2 separate regions of the Homo sapiens genome follow, and region 2 is linked to region 1. Evidence: promoter capture Hi-C in human tissues and cell types (Jung and others, 2019). All regions are on one chromosome and are shown on one strand. Each heading gives the region's core, a stretch centred on a gene start or on the middle of the fragment in contact. The rest is flanking DNA. Distances are from core to core; before and after follow the strand shown. Region 1 holds the start of DAD1 (defender against cell death 1). Region 2 holds the start of TMEM253 (transmembrane protein 253).

Region 1 (6,951 bases), core at 4,452-6,951:
GACGACTACACATGAACTGGTATTAGATCTCTCTAGACCATTTCTCAGGAGTGCAGAGAAGTGTTTGTATTTTGTTTTCATGTGCGAAATCAGCTTTAAAGTAGAGGTTTCTTGGAAGTAGGAAACTTGAATGGATGGAAAATGCCTTTAATAACCAAAGTTACCACAGTTTTTAAGGTATCCCCAGTGCTGATGTATCTCAGGATCAGGACGGATCTGCTAGAATTACACAGAGTAAAGAGGACTCTCGGAGCCTACTCTAAGGCAGGCCTCTGGGGAGAAAATGTAAGTTATTTTTTTTCTCCTTATCATCAGGACAAAGCACACCATGAGCAAGTATGAGACTCCAACAAGTGTGGATGGAAATTAATTTGACAAATCTGAAACCATCTTTGCAAAATTATGACTGAGACAGTGAAAGAGATCTAACTTAACTGACTCCATCTCGCTTCTAACCAGGTTGTCCTTGTTCATTCCTGGGCATAGGCTGAACTAACTTTGGGAGAAACTTAGTTTATAGTTTGTGGTTTGTGACAGATAACAGCCCTTTCCCGGGGCTGACTTCCTTGTTGCCTGGAGACTAGATTGCCTTTGTAACACTAACATTAGCCATAAGATTGGAAATTATGGTTTGGGAGTCATGCAGCTGGAGGCTACAAGATTCTGACCCTCCCTAGACTGCTCCTAAGATCAGTGCTTGAGATATTTGGTGACCCCTGCACTTGATGGATCAGCTGGTACCACTCAGATTGATGAACTGGCTCATCTGATCTTGCAGCGCCCCCCACCCAGGAACTCAGGGCAAGAAGACAGCTTGGACTCCTTATTATTTCTTCCCCGACCATCAGGACTCGTGGCTCACTGGCTTCCCCAACCAAGTTGTCCTTAAAAACTCTGATCCCCGAATGCTTGGGGAGACTGATTTGAGTAATAATAAAATTCCGTTCTCCTGCACAGCTGGCTGTGTATGAATTACTCTTTCTCCATTCTAATTGCCCAGTCTTGATGAACCAGCTCTGTCTAGGCAGCGGGCAAGGTGAACTCCTTGGGAGGTTACAAACCCTCTTTCTATGACTGTAAGTCATCACTGAGTATTCCAAAAGTAGGTGGAGCTGATAAACTGATAGCTCAGGCCTGGCAGCTATAGATTATTCTTGTTTCAAATGGGTATCACTGCCATTTGAATAAACTGTGAACAAGGTATATCTCTTTGACTGAACATAGAAATGAGTGGAATAGCTCATAAGTTGTTCTGTCCAATGACAGCCACTAGCCACAAGTGGCTACTTAGATTTAAATAAAAGCCAAATAAAATTTCCTTAGTCACACTGTAACCAAGTATCCCCATTTTTCTAAGAGATAGTTTAATGATTTTTAAAAAATCTCTCTTCTTTTCCCCCTTCTCCTCACTTCCTCCTTAGCTCTTTAGAAATGCAATTGTAGCCTTTTACCTCCTCTTTATCAGACACTCCCTATGGGGCAGGTTCATCTAACTATGTGCTTAGAAGCTCCAGAGAGGAACTCTCACCCACCGGGAGGTTGCCTTGAGAGACAACAGCCTATCTACAACCCAAAGTATGCCTGCTACAAAGCTTTCTCTTACCTGGAGAGTTTTGGCCACTTTTACAACCCAGTCCTGCCCACAAAAGGCACCAGCAGTCACTGTCCAGTAGATAAGGCACTGAAGGTAGTATGCAGACCCCCCAACCACTCGCTTCCTCCCCTCGTGCCATTCATGCCAGCATTCCATGCCCCATTTCAAAAGCACCCTCTTTCTGCTCCAAAAGTGAAATGGTACCCTTAAGGCAGAAAACCTGTACTTCCTCCCCTAAGGTAGCTTTGGAATAAAATATCATTTTCTTTATACCAGATCTCACTCTTGTTAAGTGGACTCTGCAAGCAGCGAGAGAGTGAACCTGCATTTGGGTTACAACACTAACTAGTTTAAGTGCTCAATAGCCACATATGTCTAGCAGTTACTATACTGGGCAGTGCAGAGACATTATCACAGAAAATTCTATTGCACACTGTTGCTCAGGCACTGATGATTTCAGCCCCATGTTGTGGTGAGTGATCTGCTCTTGGAAAGGACAATATAGTGGACTCACTTTCGGGTGCCAGCAAGGGGGCAAAACTGAGGCTTTTTTGAGACTCCCAAACAGCTAGGAGGGAGGGAAACCAGACAAAGGAGCTGAAAAGTTGTTCCACTTCATCAGAAACTGAAAGGATGAAGGGATATGGGTTCACTGAAGATATTTACTGCTTTACTAGGACTTGATCAGAAACTTGATACTTTAAAAATTTGACTTTGTGCTGTTTGCAACTTGATTCTCCTTAAATTTTTATTTCTGAAAATAATAACCTATTTTATCTGTTCTATTAGGAAACAAGGAGAGGGGGTTTTGGTCACACTGGGGCCAAAGTTTAGAAGGTAGAGATTATATATGCAATAGCAGTTAACAGAAGCAAAGAGGGGAATCTTAAGGCAAACGTGACAATGCAAGGGAAAGGAAATGGAAAAGACATTCTTTTCCATGCGGAGATTTCCTTTAGAAGAGTTATTGTCTACTCAAACTTTGGAGGATTTGTGTTTCTTTTGGTAAATAATGTGATTTCTTTTTGTAGAGGATGTATGATGTAAAATCATGGACTTTGCCCTTAAGGGAACCCTCTTGCTCCTCCACTCTTCCATTGTTTTATGTAATGAAACCCCTAAAGTATACTCTGACTTCAGTTTCAGCTTATAAATTAGATCTGCCCTTTAAGAGCCATTTGAGTTGCAGTCCCTCCAGTGCTATCTTTTGCATACCCAAATTATTGGGGGCGCTGTAGTTTGGCTAACTTTTAATCATTCAGAGAACTAGGAGAAGCAGACATGGTTAATTACTAGGATTAATGATAGTTAATAAGAGCAAACATTTACTGAACATTTACTGTCTGCCAAACACTATGCTAACAGCTTAATGCTTAACATTATCTCATTTAATCCTCACATAATTTCAATGAGCCAGGTATTGTTATTTCTGTTTTATAGAAAAGGAAAATGAGACTGTCAGACTGAGTAACTTGTTCCAGATTAGACAACTAGTAAACAGCAGAATCAAGGTTCAAACCTAGGACTGTCTGATTCTAGAGCTTGCACTCTTATCCACTACTCTGGACAAGAATTTTAAACTATATTAATATTCTGATTTAAACTAATTGAAATCAACACTAGTGTTAGCAATTTCCTATTGACAGATCAGTTAAAAATGTTTCAATGATTATAGAATCATAAACCGAATAGAGAAGTAGGCCTTTTCTTGCTGTTTTAAGTAGTTCAGAAAAGCCCTAGTGTAGTATATTGGTGTGACTAGCAGGTCTCAGAAACAAATGCATTCAATAAGTCCATTTGGTGTTTTTCATCTCTTCTTCTCTCCTGTGAGAGTTCCTGGGGAGATCTTAATGATGATAGTTGACATGGATCAAAGGCAGACAAAACATAAGGGAGAAAACACTGGAAGGAGCCTGGCTGATGGAACAGAAACTCCCTGAAGAATCCACACCTGAATGATTAAAAAGCATCAGCCTAGCCTGTAAAGTTTGAAGTTGAATATTCGTGAGGAAGCTACCCTCCTACTTGTTGATGAGGCAGAGAGAAAGGTTCAACTTGTCAGAGAAATTGATGCTTCCTGCCATATTATATTGAAATAAGAACCAGCTTGTTATCCACTCTTTTTTTTTCTTTCTCAGCAACATAGGTTTAGGCTGAACTTATGTTCATATAGCTGCACAAATCTCCACGGGTATGAATATAAATCTATCTATTCAAATAGACTCTAAAGGTTTCTTAGGTTATTTCTCTTCTTTCTAGAACTTAAGTAAGGCTTTGATCACCACTGATAATACATCCGTTAGTTAATGCGTGTAGAGTTTCCAGTCTAAAGGCAAATAAAAAGTGAAAAGGGGCCGGCGCAGTGGCTCACTCCTATAATCCCAGCACTTTGGGAGGCTGAAGCAGGCAGATCACCTGAGGTCAGGAGTTCAAGATCAGCTTGGCCAACATGGCGAAACCCCGTTTCTACTAAAAATACAAAAATTAGCCGGGCGTGGTGGCAGGTGCCTCTAATCCCAGCTACTCGGGAGGCTGAGGCAGGAGAATGGCTTGAACCCAGGAGGTGGAGGTTGCAGTGAGCCGAGATCGCACCATTCACTGCACTCCAGCCTGGGTGACAAGAGCAAAACTTCATCTCAAAAAAAAAAAAAAAAAAAAGTGAAAAGGCAGGAACGCTGTTGTTCACCTGCTGTTTTAGGAATTTTGCTCACGTACAGTTCAAAATATTAAGAAGCTGAAAATAAAGTACCTGGTCATGTGTGGAAAAACTTACAGCTAAAAGGTGAGATGAACTGGGTCTAGAAGGTCGGATTCACGTGAAATTAAAAGGGCAACGAAAGCCAGAACTTAATTTCTTAAAAAAAGTTAAAACAGGCCGGGTGCAGTGGCTCATGCCTGTAATCCCAGCACTTTGGGAGGCCGAGGCTGGCGGATCACAAGGTCAGGAGTTCGGGACCAGCCTGGCTAACAATGGTGAAACTCCGTCTCTACTGAAAATACAAAAATTAGCCGGGCGTGGTGGCGCGTGCCTGTAGTCCCAGCTACTAGGGAGGCGGAGGTTGCAGTGGGCCGAGATCGCGACACTGCACTCCAGCCTGGCCGACAGAGCAAGGCTCCGTCTCAAAAAAAAAAAAAAAAACAGTTAAAACCCTCAAAATAATCCCACTTGTTAAAATACAAAACCTGAAACCATTTCAGTTTCTTCTGCAAAATGAGTTGGAGAGAGTAGGGTTGAACCAGGCATGCTCTTTCGGGCCTTTCGACGCTGACATCCCGGGATATTACACCAGGTTCAAGATACCAGCTTGCGGAAAGAGAGCTGCTAAACTTGACCATATGCTTTTTGCACGACATTCGACAGCTGTCCCTCCCTTCACCAGCTCTTTTAAGGCTGCAAATATATCTGATTCACGTGAGAGTCCCTACAAGTTAGTACAACGTCAGGCCCCAAGGAGGCGCCCAATAAATGTTGGCATTGCAGGGCCAGATCCCGAGTTCCAGTTCAGAACCCTGCTGAGGTCAGGCTTCCTCCCTGCCTCCCGCCCCTCACCACACCCACTCACTCCCCCAAGTAATTAAGTCTAAACTGGGGCCTGTGCAGTGATTGGCCGCGCCGGGTCTCACTGCGGATGAACTTGACTTGTTCCAATGATCTGTGACAGACATCTGCAGACAGCGCCCTTAACAGAATTAGGGTCAGGCTGGTATCAAACCCCAGGAACGCCAGGCATTGCCTCAAAGTAGATGCAAACCGTTAAATCTTCCAGGACTCAGAAGGACCAGAGAGAGCCGGATACCTCTGGTTAGCTACGCGGTCCCCAGTAAAGCTTATTCCCCTCTTCCTCCCAGTGTGTCTTGTTGCCAGAGCAACTGTGGGCGTCACCGAGCTGACGGGCGGAAACAGAACAGAAAGAGTACACGTCCCCAGCTCATTGATAGGGCCATTGCGCAGACGCATTAACTTTTCTGAGTTGTAGTTGAGTCTGTTGATGCAGTCCGCGTCTGCGCATTAGTTGTTACGCGCCCTGGCCGGCCTCAGCGCCTGCGCAAATTGGCACACCGGGGAGGGCGGAGTTAGGTCACGAGGGTGCGCATGCGCAAACAGCACATCCGGTGTGGTCGACGGGTCCTCCAAGAGTTTGGGGCGCGGACCGGAGTACCTTGCGTGCAGTTATGTCGGCGTCGGTAGTGTCTGTCATTTCGCGGTTCTTAGAAGAGTACTTGAGCTCCACTCCGCAGCGTCTGAAGTTGCTGGACGCGTACCTGCTGTATATACTGCTGACCGGGGCGCTGCAGTTCGGTTACTGTCTCCTCGTGGGGACCTTCCCCTTCAACTCTTTTCTCTCGGGCTTCATCTCTTGTGTGGGGAGTTTCATCCTAGCGGGTAATGGTTCTATAAGTGATCATAATAATAATGTGTTACTTTGGTGTGCTGCTTTTGTTTTCATAGTACTCTATATCAGACCACCGCCCCTTGAAGTTATGAGAAGAGCCTGCATTGCCCTTTTGTTGTGAATGGGGAAATTGAGGCTCAGAAAGCTTAGATTATATGCCTAATACCAAACGGCTCCGTAGGAGTTGGACTTAAAAGTCTAAAGAAACCACCTTCGTGCCGCTACTCCACTTGGTGATCCACTTCACTTAATATTGGTCCGGGGAAAACCCTATTCCAACTTTAACTTAGGTTTAACACAACTCTAAAATTAGTAGACTTTTCAAATGAAAAACCCAACCTTGAATCATCTCTGTCATCTTGGCCTAATCATTACCAATCTCCGGTGAAACGTTTCAATGAAAGTGCAAAGAATATAAATACTGGTGCTTTTCTTGTTGAATCATCCTTTACTTGATTTTGCCTTTTAGCTGCTACTACTTTTTTTCTTGTTGAGGAAGCTGTTATTTCACTGTCCTGAACCCAATTTTTGTTCACATAACTCTATTTTAGCCTTATTTTTCCTTTTGATTCCAGGATTTGGTAACCTTGTAGACTGCTATATTTAGCGAGAACAGTCTCCATCAATTTTTGTTAAAATCTGACTTTTCTTGCCCAACGGGGATTCAGTGAATACTGAAAACAGGCGTGGCCTCTATCACTGGTATCACCTGCTACTTTGACTTTGAAAACATGCCAGCATTCATGGTTTCTTTTCAGTGTGATCATCAGTCAGGTCATCAGTTGTATTTTCAGTCCAATATGAGGCATTATGGTAAAAGCTTTGGCACATGTTCTTTATCCGTAAAGAGTTTATGGTCTAGTTGGGGTACAGACAAAATACAGCATTGGAATTGTCTGGAGGCCTGGCACAGTGGCTCATGCCTGTAATCCCAGTACTTTGGGAGGCCGAGGTAGGCAGATC
Region 2 (6,951 bases), core at 913-3,412, 1.5 Mb after region 1:
CGAGCCTGTCCATCTTCAGCGCCCAGGCCCTAGGGGAGGGGACGAGAAAGGCCCCGCGCTTCTGACTCATCATCTCCAACCCCTTTCTCGCGCGCGCTCCAAGTCTCAGGACTTCGGACCTGGGCCCTCCTGCGAGGGGGTGCGGCGACAGCATCTGGGAAGCCCCAGCTCTGCCAAGCGTCAGCTCCGAGCCCTCGCCAGTCTCTGAAGCTGCCAGCGCAGGGCTGGGGACCCAGATCCAGCTCTCTATTGCAGTGGCTGGGGGAGCGGCACGCCAGTGCAGGACCGCCCGCCCGGCTCCTCCCCGAACGCGGGGCCAGTGGTCGCGTCCGAGAAAGCGCCAGGCTAGGCCCCGACTTCCCCGCCTCGCGTCACTCAGCACATCCAACAGCGCCCCTACCGCGGAGAGAAGGCTCTTTATTTCCTAGCCGGTCACGGGCTAGCGGGGCATCCTGGGACTTGTAGTCTCCGCTACAGTAGAAAGGAGATGGATCGAAAGGGGAACTGGGGCACTCCTGAATTGGATTCAGGGAGTTGGCGTGTGCAGGGTCCGGGATTTGGAGTGGATGGGATTATGAAAGGTGGACAGAAAAGAAAAGTGCGATGAGGCAAATGTGAAGCTGTATGGGGAGGTGACAGGAAGAGAGGATATGGATGCAAGGGAGAAAGCAGCTTTTCAGGGTGGTGAGGTGAGGATATATTCTCGTCCAGGTGTATCTTCCCCTAACAGGGAAGGAACGAAAAAAGGGCCTGCTTTGAGTGAAAACTGAAGGCACTCCCGGACTTCCTATTGGACTCGAAGGATCCCAGCAAGCTTCTGAGTTTGGTGGGGTGGGATGCAGGAATGTCTGGAGAGCATTCTCTCAGGGTGGAAGGAGAGCAGCACGTGTCTGTTCCCGCTGTCCCACCCTCTCATTTGCTCCTGTGCTGGCCACCGTGGGACCATTCTCCAAACCAGGAACCTCTTCCAACTCAGAGAAGCCCTGAAAACCAGAGACAGGTGTGAGCAAATTGTAGAGGTGAGAAAGGAGAAACCCCAGACAGAAACAACTGCTTCCTCCTGCCCAATTTTCTATCCTGTTTCCCATAGTCCTGCCAATATTTAGGCAGCTTCCTAATGCTTTCCCACTCTTTTAACCTCAATCATTTGGATTCCCAGTTTCCTCTTACCCACCATTAGGGGAGAAATGTTCAAAGCCAGAGAAAGCCAATCAGTTTCATTCTAGGACCTCTTCTTTTCTCTCCTGCCCCATTATTTTCCCTTAAGTGCCACTGACCAGGATAGGCAGTGGAAAAATTAGTTGGCAGCTAGCTATTCGTGCTTTCTTCCCTGCCCCCATACCTCCTGCAGCTCTTGATAGTGCAGACTCTGGCTCCTGCAGCATCCTGGTTTCCTCTGGCTCAGCAAGAATAGGGCGTGCACTGAGACCAGCACTCCCCCTAGGGTGAAGGCCTCAGCACTGAGTTCCAGCACCAGCAAGCCAGCATGCTGCAGGTAGACAGGGCTGAGAATGCAGGGACCCCGCACCTGTTTGCCCCTGCCCTTTTCCCTTCCCACCTCCTCTTGCCTCCTTATCCTCCCACCTTCTCCTTCATTGACCAGTACCTGGGAGGAGGCAGTTGGGGCAGGCCCCAAGGCTGTCTTCATCACCTCGACCACCACCACTATGAAACCCAAGATCAAGTTGAAGGTGTTGAATATCATCATGGCCCGCACCTGCCAGTGAGCCAGCTCAGCCCTGCCCAGCCTAGGGGAGTCATTCCAACCTCAATCCCCACTTGCAGCCTAGCTGAAGACAAAACTCAGCTTCTGCTTCTCAGCCTCCAAACAGGGCCATAAGCCCTCTTAACTTTTTTGCTTTCCTCCTCAGTGATTGAGGCCAGTCAGTGGTGACAGCTGAGAGAATGAGTCAACACTTAGCCACTTACTTCCTAGGCTGAGGGTTGTAGGTGTCTGTTTTAGGGAGTGGGAGGACAGTGCTGCGTTTTCTTCCCTCTCACCTTCCAAAGGCGGGGTGCTCTGCGAAGCTCCAGAGTGACAGTCCCAGTGAGGAGACCCTGAATGGTGAGAAGGGCAAGTGTTGAGCTCTGGTCCCGTTAGGAAGGGGCCCTGGGACCTTCCACCCTCCCTTGTGGTGGGTCTTACTGAGGCTCCAGGCCCAAGAGGCAGCGCTGTGGCCATGTGACAATCAGAGTTCAGGCAGGCGACTGAGACAGCAAGGGGCACCACAACCACTGCCAGCCATAGCTGGCTCACCTGGGGGTAAGGGTAGGGTAATTGGGGAGGAACTGTCAGGGATTCCCTCCCTTCTCGTAACTCCTACCTCTTTAGAGATCAGGAAATGGGATTGAATGCAGGGTGGAGGAAAGCAGTCAACCCAGAGCAAGGACGTGATCATTAAAAATTAAGTATCATTTAATTTTTTCTGCCTCATATTGTAGTTTAGTTACTTACCTGTATGTTTTCCCCCACAAGATGGAAGCTACTTGGGAGATTAAGGGTCTTGCCTTGTTTATTTCTATGTTTTCCTCTACCCTCCTCCCATTCAGAACCTAGCTCAGTTTCTGGCACATGGTAGGTGCTCACTTAACATGGATGGATGGATGGATGGAATTGAATTGGGTAGAAGTGGACATGCTGAGACCTGGGATGGGGTAGCCTGGCCTCACCGCTAGCACCAAGAGGTGCCCACTCTGCCTGTGCCTTGCCCAGTGTTGTAGCTTTTCCAGACGAAGGCTGTGTCTCTCCTGCTCTTGCTCACCAGCTCTATCTTCCATGGCTCCTTTGCCCACAAGAATTAGGTGCTTCCTAGGCTGGGAAAAATGCGTTATAGGTTCTGTCTATTAGGAGACAGGACATGCAACAACGTATCTTTCAGCTACACCTCTGCCCACTCCCAATATCCAGGGATTTGAGGTCCAGGTCCTCACACCTACCTAGTCTGAAGCAGCTACTCCAAAGGGATGGGACCCAGCTGGGTCCTAGGTCTCCTAAGGGGCTTGATAGCTCAGAGCAGACGACAAACTTGTCCTGGCAGAGGAAGGCTGTCAGGGATGGGGTGTGGTGGGGCAAAGGTTTCTATGAAGGCCTAAGGATCTAGGGAGTGGCCCTGGGTAGATACCGGCCTCAGTTCACTCCACAAGATGTCTAGCCCGACCTCACTCTGTTCCCATTTCTCATTACCCTCATTTCTGCCCATCCTGGGTTCCTTTTCTGGTTTCACTTACCTCATCCCCATGGACACTATCACTCTGGACCTCAATTCCCCCTCATTTCCATATGATCTTACTCCTTTCTTTGGCTTCCTCCTCAAATTATGTGCCCTTCCCTAGAGATCCTACTTTCTGTCTGGATTGGTCCCCTGTCATTACTACTTGCAGCTTTGCCCCCAGACCAGGTAAGGTTGAATTCCAGGGGCTTTCTTGCCTCTCACTTTCTGGACAGTCTCCCTTCCTTCTTTCTTGAAGGTTTTACTCTGAACTGAACACTGACTCAATGGATGGGGGGGACCCTGTTTATGGTGGGGATTGTTTTTGATTCAATGATAACCTGCAACTGGACATTATCTATCTATCTATCTATCTATCTCATGGTCCTCAAATAGTGAGTCTTGGGAAGGATGCTATTGCAACAATTAATATTTTTGAGAGAGAAGGTGCCTCATAGCCAGACAGACCTGAGCTGGAATCTTAGCTCTGCTGCTTCTCCATCTGTGTGATCTTGGATACATTATTATTATTATTATTATTATATTATTGAGACAGGGGCTCACTGTCACCCAGGCTGGAGTGCAGTGGCATGATCATGGCTCACTGTAGCCAACACCTTCTGGGCACAAATAATCATCCTGCCTCAGTCTCCCAAGTAGCTGGGATCACAGGCACATGCCACCATGCCTGGCTAATTTTTAAATTTTTTGTAGAGACAGGGTCGTCTCACAATGTTGCCTAAGCTGGTCTCAAACTCCTGGGCTCAAGCCATCCTCCCTGCTTGGCCTCCCAAACTGCTGGGATTACAGGTGTGGGCCACTGTGTCTGTCCTGATAGATATGTTTTTCTACCTATTCGCACCTCAGTTTATTCACTGATAAAAGGGGGCTAACAATATGACTGTGAAGAGTTGTTGATTCAGGGTGGGTGTTTAATAACTATTAGTGGTGCTGATGAGGTCACACCGATAAGTCTGATGCCCATACACTAAAAGTGTTATTCAGAAGGAAGCTGGGGACACATTTCTACAGTCGGAAGCAGAACCAGCTGGGCCCAAATATACTCTATAGATCAAAACAAATCCCAGATCTACCTAGGTGCCCTTGGCAAGTTGCTTAATCTCTCTGTTCCCTTATCTATAAAAGGAAGTTAATAATACCAGTCTCAAGGGGTTGCTTTCAGCATGGAAGAGAGCTTAGCCCAGTACCTGGTACACAAGTGCTCAATGTTAGTGGCTATGATCATCATCACTATTATTATTTCTTGTTGTTGACGATAAGAGGAGACTGCGCCAGAAGACTCTAGAAGTTAGTACGAGGAGGGAGGCAGGGTCCTGGGAGGCAAGTGATCTTTTGTAAGCCACTCCTGCCCCATCAGTGCTGTGCCAACATCGGCGGGTCATTGTATCTACTCTTTTCTTTCCCGGGGAGTGGGAGTCACGTTTTAAAGAGATCCAGAAAACTGCTGTGTGTCTACTCCTCCTCAATTCCCACGTGCATTGATTTTATTTGGTGGCGATGTGAGATGTTGGGCTTGCACTGAGGATCCCCGAGCCTGCAGGCCACTGGGGAAACAGACTTCCTGAAGCCTCATTTTTCTTACTTGTAAATGGGGGCTAATTTAATTATAGAGGGTTATTGGAAAGATTATATACTATTAGATAGGTGAACAGGCATTCAGTAAATATTGACTAAATCTGAGTATACTACTTACCAGTTTGTAGTCTAGACTACAATCGCCTGGAAGGAAGGTACCACTTCTTTCTCATCCCTCACAGCGCTGAGCCCAGTGCCTGGCACTTAGTAAGCACTCAGTAAATATTTGTTGTATTGAAGAGCCATTAAAGTGACTTGAGGAATGGAAAATAGAATTCGAGAGGAAGGCGCAGGAATTGTTTATCAAGAACGGAAAGGACCGAAGAGTAACTTTAATAATGTTTCTTATACGGCCGACATTAACTATCTCTATAATCGCCCCTCCTCCTCCCCCAAAAGAGAGACAGAAATTGTAAGGGAGAGGCTTTGAGATAAAACCCCAGGAAGAACTTCCCGAGTCTGTGCATGTTGGGGCAGAAAGAGCGGCAGAGCCAACTCCTTCCCTGGTATGTCCGGGTTTAGGGAGGGAGGGGCAGTGCTGCTTGGAGGCTGGGGGAAGGACGAGATGACCTTTCAAAATCTCTTCCAGTCTCCTGTTGGAATCCTCTGTGCGCCCCACCCCCGCTCCCTCCCTTCCTCCCTCCCTCCGACAGCGCCCCCCGTCTCCAAACCGCCCGCACCCCGCCCCTGGCGGCCGCCTCTCGCGGCTCCCGGGGTCCCCAGCTCCCTGTCCCCGGAGCCAGAGCCCGGCTCCCGCGCGGCTCCCAGCCCCGCCGCGCCGCCCCCCGCATGCTAATGGCCGGGCCGCCTCCCGCCGCACACAATGCGGGCCAGGGCCGGGGGCGGGGGACCGGGGAGGGGGCGGGGGCCGGGCCGGGGGCGGGGGGGCCGGGGCCCGGCGCATCTCCCCCGGCCCCACGTAACGCTGACGCCCGCGCCGCCGGCCCGCCGCCCGCCGCCGCCGCCGCCGCCGCCGCCCGCTCCGCCGCCGCCCGCCCGGGGCTCGTGAGTAGCCGCTCCCCCGACTCCCGGGCCCCCCCGTCCGCCACCCGGCCCCCGCCCCCGGCCCCCTCCCCCCTCCCGGAGGGGGGGCCCGCTCAGCGCGCCCGGCTCGGAGCAGGTGCAGGGGGCGGGGGCGGGGGAGGGGCGCCGGCTCGGCCCCAAGCAAACTTCGCCCAGAGCTCCTGGGGGGGCGGGGTGGGGGTGGCGGCCTCGGAAGCCTGGAGAGCTGGGGGGCCCCAAGGGAGGGGGGGCCAGGTGGAAGAGCTGGGGGAGCAGACACCAAAGGGAAGGGCCAACGGGGGGGATGTGGCGGGGGAGGTGGCGGGTGTCTTTGTAGGGGCCCGAAGGCAGGGCGCGAGGGACCTGGGGGTGAGGGGCGGCAGAGCCGCGAGCCTGAGTGGATGTGCACCCCCCAACCCCCGGCCCAGGTAGGGCTGGTGGGGGAGGGGGAAGGAGCCCAAACTCTCTGGAAGCACGGGGTGGCGGGGGAGGGGAAAGGATGGGGGGTGCTTCCCTCTTTGCGTCCCAAACAAAGTGTCACAAAGAGCTCGGCCCGCGGCAGCAGCGGAGGCGGCTGTAACTCAGCTTTTGTTCTCCTGGCCGGGGGTAGCTGAGCCTTGGCCTCCCTATCTCCCAACCCTGCCCCCCATCATCCTTCTGGCTTATCTTCCTGGGGAGGGGTCTGGGGTGCTGCTGGAAAAACCTCTCCGGCAGGATAGCAGGTCCTACCCTACTTAGCAATCTATTTCTGGGAGGGGGATTTTCCCAGAGGCTCCCTTGATCGCCCCTACCTCCCAGTCTGAGGACCGAGGCTCACGTGGGTGCTAAGACTGACTTTTCTAGGGTCAGCTCCACTTAAAGGGACTTAGGGCTGGCTACATGCCCCTCTTTCCCAAACCCAGGTCTTCCAGAACTTTCAAAATCAAAATCGGGGTTGCGTTAGGACATGCCTCTGGGATAAGATTCCCCATGGTGGGATGGCAGCAGGTGAGCAGGTGTGCCTTCCTCTCGCCTCCTGCTGTACCTTTGAAGTCCATGGCTGAGGTTCCATGTCCCTAACTCAGGAGAGTGAGGACAGAGGGAAGGAGGCTTTACCAAGATCTCAGTCTAAAAAGGCTGGTGAGCTGCAGAGTGGAGCGGGTTA

Evidence for each region. Contacts are between HindIII fragments. The study calls those that stand out against the background at their distance.
Region 2: a contact is called between a fragment that was not itself captured here and the fragment with the promoter of DAD1 in region 1, in 1 of the 25 tissues and cell types used here (hippocampus).

Annotation. Positions count from the first base shown.
Region 1 is chr14:22,587,974-22,594,924 of GRCh38, reverse strand. DAD1 (defender against cell death 1) reads left to right here and starts at 5,701. Exons shown (of 3, transcript NM_001344.4): 1 at 5,701-5,978. The coding sequence starts at 5,768. RefSeq lists enhancers at 5,421-6,062, 6,063-6,704. The HindIII fragment of the contact is 2,964 bases long and covers 3,508-6,471 here.
Region 2 is chr14:21,097,171-21,104,121 of GRCh38, reverse strand. TMEM253 (transmembrane protein 253) reads right to left here and starts at 3,056. Exons shown (of 7, transcript NM_001395467.1): 1 at 2,938-3,056; 2 at 2,671-2,814; 3 at 2,147-2,257; 4 at 2,002-2,058; 5 at 1,607-1,717; 6 at 1,343-1,489; 7 at 398-983. The coding sequence starts at 2,778. The coding sequence ends at 864. It overlaps ZNF219 (zinc finger protein 219), which reads left to right and starts at 5,467. Exons shown (of 5, transcript NM_016423.3): 1 at 5,467-5,810. RefSeq lists enhancers at 81-825, 5,285-5,785, 6,545-6,951. The HindIII fragment of the contact is 4,406 bases long and covers 1-4,365 here.